Regions from separate parts of the Homo sapiens genome. Here region 2 is linked to region 1. The links are contacts of gene promoters, found by promoter capture Hi-C in human tissues and cell types (Jung and others, 2019). All regions are on one chromosome and are shown on one strand. Each heading gives the region's core, a stretch centred on a gene start or on the middle of the fragment in contact. The rest is flanking DNA. Distances are from core to core; before and after follow the strand shown. Region 1 holds the start of GPR89B (G protein-coupled receptor 89B). Region 2 has its middle 20 kb from the start of ACP6.

Region 1 (3,567 bases), core at 1,068-3,567:
AAAGGAGTTTGAACTTCATCCTGTGCCGTGGTGAGCAAGATTCAATACGTGACCTCTGATTTCAGATTTCATTTCAAATAAACCTTTCAGTTAATACAAAACAGAAAAAATGAGCAGGGAGGGGCGCAGGGGGCAATGGTGGTGTTTCCAAGGTAACCACACCTCTCTAGAGAGGTGCTTTTTATTAAACAAATATTCACTACAACTCTACTATGTGCCTGCAACTGATCTAGATGCTGGTGAATACAGGAGAGAACAAGACAGACAGTATCTTGGACTTCATGGACAGATAACAAACACATGAATATACAAATGAACCATAGTAATAAATGCCAAGAAGATAATAAAACATGGAAATGAGGAAGAAGGCAGCCGAAATGGAAAGCTACTTTGGTTGTGGGCAGGGTGTCAGGTAAAACCTTCCTAAAGCGACATTTTTATTAATACCGAAAGGATGATAAAGTAGCCACATAAATATCTGAACAGAGAACATTCCATGCAAAGGAATCTTTGGGTCTTTCTTCCACATTTGTAAAAACCAGGTTTAACAATTAATTACTGCATATGGATACATGTGTGAAGTGAAAGTCTATGATTATAAGGCATACAAAATTAGAAAGCCACTTCCTTGGTTCAACGTATCAATTATATCCATGCTAAAAATCGTAGAGGCTGCAATGCAAAGCCAATTTTCTACTGACATTCTTATCTTTATTCTAAGTGAAAAGAAAAGCTAATTAAATATTGTTATTTTTCTTAAATTGGTACTAAGGCTAAAAATAATCCTGAGTTGTCACCAAGGGCACTGGGTAGTCTTAGAAAGGTTTTAAGCAGAAGAGTTACATGTCTAGGTTTTTTTACATTAATACATTTGAATACTATGCAGCCAATAAAAACAATACTTATGAAAACTATAGAAAAGGTGGTAAATTTTAAAAATGAAAAACTATTGCATTAGAGCGGTAGGATTATGGATGGCTTTTCCTTCTTTCTTATTTTCTTAAATATTGTAAACAAGTTTTTGAAGAGAAAAGGACAATGCTCCGCTCTACGGAGACGAGTATTAGGATGAAGCAATACAAAAACTGAATCAAAGAACACAAATTTAGTTCACTTTAAGCCCCCAAAGGTAACTGTTTCTGTTATTTGCCGTTTGAGAGAAAGAACAAGCAAAAACAAACACACACACACAAAATCTTTATTGGAAAGATGAGGGGAAGAAGGTCAACAGGCAGTCTGAGCTTCACAAATATTGGCCAACAATTATTTATTGAATGCCTGCATTTGGAAGTGGGGATACAGCTATGAACAAGGCAGGATCTCAAAAAACAAAATCAGAAACACAGACATAAATGATGCCAGTGCTATGATGAATGCTAGGAAGAAACAATAATTAACAATAGATTACATGGTAAAAGCAAGAGGCTAACTAGACGAAACTTCTATTGAGCAGAGACAGTGTCTTACATGTTTTTACGCTCAGAGCTTTATATAATGGTCGATAAATGTTTGTTGACTGTACAAACAAATGAAGGTGGCCAATGGAGAAGAAATGAGGGTCAGAAAAACATCCGGAAAAGGTGGGTAACTAAGCAGAGGATAAAGGACGAGGTGTCAGTGCAAAAACGAAACCTTATACTTTCAAGCATAGGTATTACCTTATACTGATACTTTGAAGCAGCAAATTTCTCCACACCCGGATTCAGGATTTGACATCTAACAGCAAAGCCTGCACTGACGTGTCCTCAGTATCCAGTATTGGCGCGTCGCACACCGCGCGCCCAGAACCACACAGGCTTCCCCAGTCCAGGATCAGTTGGCGCAGCCCGGAAGCTTCGAGGAGCTCCTAGAACCGCCGCCTTAGCTGGCGGCGCCGGCTCTTAGCCTGGAGGTCGGCGGACCGCTTCCAAAAGTGGACCGAAATTCCGGGGATGGATGCCGGGTGGGGACGCGGACGGCCGCAGGCCAGCCTCCTGACAGCCGGGGCTGAGGGAACCGGCCGCAGCAAATCGCACACCCTCTCTGTGTGCCAGAGTGACTGGCGCAGGCCGCGTAAGAGAGGAGCGAGACCCCGGACCAGCCCGCACCGCGGAGGACCGGAGAGGGCGATTCGGTGAAGGGAGGCGGACGGGTGTCGGGGCGGGAGGCGGTGACTCACCTGGGAGGTAATCATGATGCTGGAGTCGATCAGGAAACTCATGGCGAAGTGTAAGGAAGGCTCCTGCCTCCACTTCCCACTCCCGGAGGCCACAGCACGCTGGGGCCACAGGCCCCCTCACACGGTCTGCCTTCTCCCAGGTGCTGCAGCCGGGACTGCGGCTCTCCAGCCCGACGCCGTCAAGCTGCGCCCCAGTCAGCCAATCAGCGGCTACATCCACAGCCCCGCCTCGGGCTCGGGGTGGGTGGGGCGGACGCTAGGCTTCCGCCGCGGAAGCCCCAGGGGCGGGGCTTATTAGGGGCGGTGCTAAAAGCAGCAATGCAAGGTAGCGTTAACGTTTCTGAGGCTGAAGGAGGTAGGGCCTGAGAGCTAAGTGGTAATTCTGTTTTGTAATGATCCTAAGATAATAATGGTAATTATAGTAAGTCGGGCATTGTGTCCTAAATGTTATAACTTTTACTTGACTCGGCAAATATGACTGTACAAAGTGAGGGAAGACTGGAAAGTCAGATGAGATATGAACAAATATAACTAACCAAATACATTTCTGTGACAACAATGAAAAGCACACTGTCTGTAGCAATTTAGTGATAATATTGTACTGCATATCAGTCAGGCCACAGGTGGAGTACTGCACTCCATGTACCACACTTTGAAGAGATTTTACAGGCCGGGCCGGCTCACACCTGTAATCCCAGCACCTGGGGAGACCAAGGCGGGCGGATCACCTGAGGTCGCAAGTTCAAAACCAGCCTGACAAGCATGGAGAAACCCTGTCTCTACTAAAAATACAAAATTAGCCGGGCGTGGTGGTGCATGCCTGTAATCCCAACTACTAGGGAGGCTGAGGCAGGAGAATCGCTTGAACCCGGGAGGGGAGGTTGCGGTGAGCCGAGATCGCGCCATTGCACTCCAGCCTGGGCAACAAGAGCGAAACTCCATCTCAAAAAAAAAAAAAGAAAAGAAAAAAGAAGAGAGAGATTCTACAGAGACATATTGGAGCTCGCTCAAATGTGAGCCACCAGATAAGGGCTGCTGGAAGGAGGCGAAGAAAGATGACTCAGAACATGACATCTGTCTTCATGTGAAAGAATGGGTAGAACTGATGTGGCACTACGAATTATCTGTAGGGCAAAGGACTGGAAGTTAATTGAAGATAGATTTTAATTCAAAACAAGGATCAGTTCTTTAAGAGTCTGAAGAAGGGTTATTTTAGGAAGTAGCTGCCTCTGCCCCCTTCCCACCTGTTGCAGTGGATCAAATATACACTGAATCACTACCTCATTCATTCAACACTCATTTCATGAAGGCTTAACGCATTGCTGTGGGGCTTACTCTGCCGCCGACCTGGGGCCTAGCTAGGCTTTGTAGTCTATATAGTCTCATAGTCCTGCAAACTGGCTCCAGCC
Region 2 (3,567 bases), core at 790-3,289, 240 kb after region 1:
CATATAAACTGTGTGTAAGTTTTTTGTGATATAAAAATGAAAGAGGCATAGTCTCTACCTTTGAGGAACTTATATATTTTTGACAAAAATAAGTAGACTTAAATACCTACAAAGCAAGGAAGAAAATAAGTGCTATGTAAACGGCATAATGATCGACACCTAATAGTTCAAAGAAGTAAAAATTACTACCTGAGTGTGATGGGGAAGATTTTTTTAAAAGATAGTTGTATAAAAGTGAGCTTTAGGGATGTAACAAGATGTTAAAAGGAAAGCTTCAGCTAAGGCACATTCTAGAGCTATGTGTTGGACCAAAATGCAAACACTTTCAAAGTAGGTGGTAAAAAGGGGTGGAAGGGTTGGTAACTCTTTTTTTATTATTTTTTTCTTTGAGATGGAGTCTCTCTCTGTCATCAGACTGGAGTGTAGTGGCGTGGTCTCAGCTCCATGCAACCTCCTTCTCCTGGGTTCAAGCGATTCTCCTGCCTCAGCTTCCAAGTAGCTGAGACTACAGGCGCGTGCCACCACACCTGGCTAATTTTTGTATTTTCAGTAGAGACGGGGTTTCACCATGTTGGCCAGGATGGTCTCGATCTCTTGACCCCATGATCTGCCAGCCTCGACCCCCCAAAGTGCTGGGATTACAGGCGTGAGCCACCGTGCCTAGCCCTGGGTTGGTAACTCTTAAATGATTACCCACACTGATGGCGTAAAGGGATGCTGAATTGGAGATCAGGAAGACTTTTGAAAAGGATTTCTTTGGAGGGAAGTATTGGGTTCCAAGAATTCTATCCTTCTCATTATGGGGGAAAAAGGGGAGAGAAGAAGAGAGGAAAGGACAGGAGAGGAGAGGAGAAAGGGGGAGAAAGAGGGTGGGGGTGGGAAGGAGGGATATCTGCTCCTTAAATCAAACCAAAGGACAGAACTTTTATGGAACCATCCGTGGAGCTTAATATGTGTCTTCTAAAGTTTGAGGGACACAGGGGACTTCTGACTGGTTCATGCTTGAGAAATCTAAATCCAGAGTGCTGAGTTATGGGGAAGGGGCTGCATTCCCAGAGTTTTCCTGGACAAACATGTTTCCTATGGACCAGATGTGGCCCATGAGGGAAAGGGAGTTGTGTGGTGTTGCTTAGCCCGTGTTTATAATGACCTCCTGCAGGAGTGAGGAGCCTCAATACAGGAAAGCTGGAGATGAACTGCTGCTGGATACCTAAGGCTGCAGAAAGGTGGGGAAAAGGAAGAGTCTCAGAGCAACCCATGAAAATCCCTTAAAAGAGCAATCAGCTTTAAACATCTGCAAAGGCCAGAGAGCACCAACTTGATCACCTGCACAGCACCAGTCAACTAAGAACTTTGCTAGTACTCCTTCATTGATCTCCCTTCCTAAGCTCCAGATCCTAGAGTGGTCAGAATCAGCTTTAGAAAGATGGTAAAAGGAGAAGAATCATGAGATTATCCCCTAACCCACTTTCAAATTTCAGACTTCTAGCCTGTGGCCAGTACAAACTGGAGGAGAGGAGGAGAAACTTCAAGGTTAAGAATTATCATTCTTACCTATGACTGCCATTTTAATTCCTGATTTCCACCATGTTTTGTGACTTTAAAAATGGCTGAGTACCTTTAATATCTCTGAGGGGCAACCTCTGTTTTTTCCTAGGGTCAAGGAGAACAGCCCCTCAGTGGAGATGTAAAGAGACAGTCAAAAATGAATTTGCTTTAAGATTCCATTCTACCAGTTGTGTTTGTTTCATATAAACATTACAGATAGAAATAGGAAAATGGGTCTTGATAAAAGGAATCGAGGTAGCCAGATCCAAGGTCTATTTGGAAAAGGACACATAGAGAAAAACATCTATCTCTGGGATGGAAATAGTGGAAAATGTAGACGGGAAGCTGATTTAAAGGGCCTCCAGTACCAAACTGAAGGGTCATTTAAATACTGGAGTATAATTTCAGTGTATTTTGGTATTTCAGTATGTTTTGTATTGACATATTTTCAGTACTTGAGATCAGTAAAACTAAGTATTCAATACTTGTAATTATTTATTTCTTTACTTTAATTGACCAGTAAAAATTGTATGTATTTGTGGTATACAACAACATGATGTTTTAATATGTGTATACATTGTGAAATGGATAAATCAAGCTAATTAACCATCATCTAAATATCTATAATCTAAGATACTTTTTTTATGGTGAGAATATTTAAAATCTACTCTCAGCAATTTTCAAATATATAATATATTGTCATTAACTATAGTCAACAAAGTGAACAATATATCTTCTGAACTTACTCCTCCTGTCTACCTGAAATTTTGTGTCATTTGACTAATATCTCCCCAATCCTCCCATCCCTCAGCCTCTGGTAAGTACCACTTTATTCCTTATTTCTGTTAAGTTTGAGGTTTTTGTTTTTTTTTTTTAAAGAGATGGGGTCTCACTATGTTGCCCAGGCTGGAGTGCTTATCCTACCACTGATAAGCATGGGATATTTGACCTGCTCCATTTCTGACCTGGGCTGGTTCACCCCTCCTTAGAAAACCTAGCGGTCCCCTGCTCTCAAAAAGGTCACCTACTACTGATGCTGAACTTAGTGCAGACACCCTATTGGCATAGCACACTACAGCCCAGAACTCCTGGACTTAAGCAATCATCCTGCCTCAGCCCCTGGAGTAGATGGACTACAGGCATGTGCCACTTAACCACTGGCTAAGTTTGAGTTTTTAAATACTCCACATACGAGATTATGTGGTATTTGTCATTCTGTGCCTGACTTATTTCACTTAACAAAATGTCCTCCAAGTTCATCCATGTTGTCATAAATGAGAGGATTTTTTTTATTTTCTAAGGCTGATTAGTATTCCATTATGTACATATAACACATTTTCTTTATCCAGTCATCCTTTGATGGACACTTAGGTTGTTCCATATCTTGAACATTGTGAATAATGCTACAGTGAACATGGGATTGTAGGTGTCCCTTCAACATACAGATTTTATTTCTTTTGGATATAGACCCAGGAGTGGGATTGCAGGATCATATGGTACTGTAGTCCAATTTTTAATTTTTTGAGGAAGCTTCATACTGCTTTCTGTAATGGCTGTACCAATTTACATGCCCACCAACAGTGTACAAGGGTTTCCTTTTCTTCACATCCTCAACACTTATCTTTCATCTTTTTTGATAGTAGTCATTCTAACAAGTGTGATATATCTCATTGTGGTTTTGATTTGCGTTTCCCTGGTGATTAGTGGTTTTTGTTTTTTGTTTTTTGTTTTTTGTTTTGAGACGAGGTCTCGGTCTGTCACCCAGGCTGGAGTGCAGTGGTGTGATCTTGGCTCACTGCAACCTCTGCCTCCTGGGTTCAAGGGATTCTTCTGCTTCAGTCTCCCGAGTAGCTGGGACTACAGGTGCCCGCCACCACACCCAGCTAATTTTTGTATTTTTAGTAGAGACGGGGTTTCACCGTATTGGCCACACTGTTCTCAAGCTCCTGACTTGTGATCCACCCACCTCAGACTCCCAAAGTGTTGGGATTACAGGCGTGAGCCACAACGCCCAGCCTG

What was found. The method cuts DNA at HindIII sites, captures the fragments that hold promoters and counts their contacts. A contact is called where the count stands out against the background at its distance.
Region 2: a contact is called between a fragment that was not itself captured here and the fragment with the promoter of GPR89B in region 1, in 1 of the 25 tissues and cell types used here (hippocampus).

What each region holds. Positions count from the first base shown.
Region 1 is chr1:147,927,170-147,930,736 of GRCh38, reverse strand. GPR89B (G protein-coupled receptor 89B) reads right to left here and starts at 2,317. Exons shown (of 14, transcript NM_016334.5): 1 at 2,159-2,317. The coding sequence starts at 2,200. It overlaps LOC105371229 (a long non-coding RNA gene), which reads left to right and starts at 2,419. Exons shown (of 3, transcript XR_922074.4): 1 at 2,419-3,567. The HindIII fragment of the contact is 5,422 bases long and covers 809-3,567 here.
Region 2 is chr1:147,688,396-147,691,962 of GRCh38, reverse strand. It overlaps the pseudogene RN7SL261P. Among named protein-coding and RNA genes, the nearest start is that of ACP6, 20 kb to the right of the region's middle. The HindIII fragment of the contact is 4,430 bases long and covers 1-3,567 here.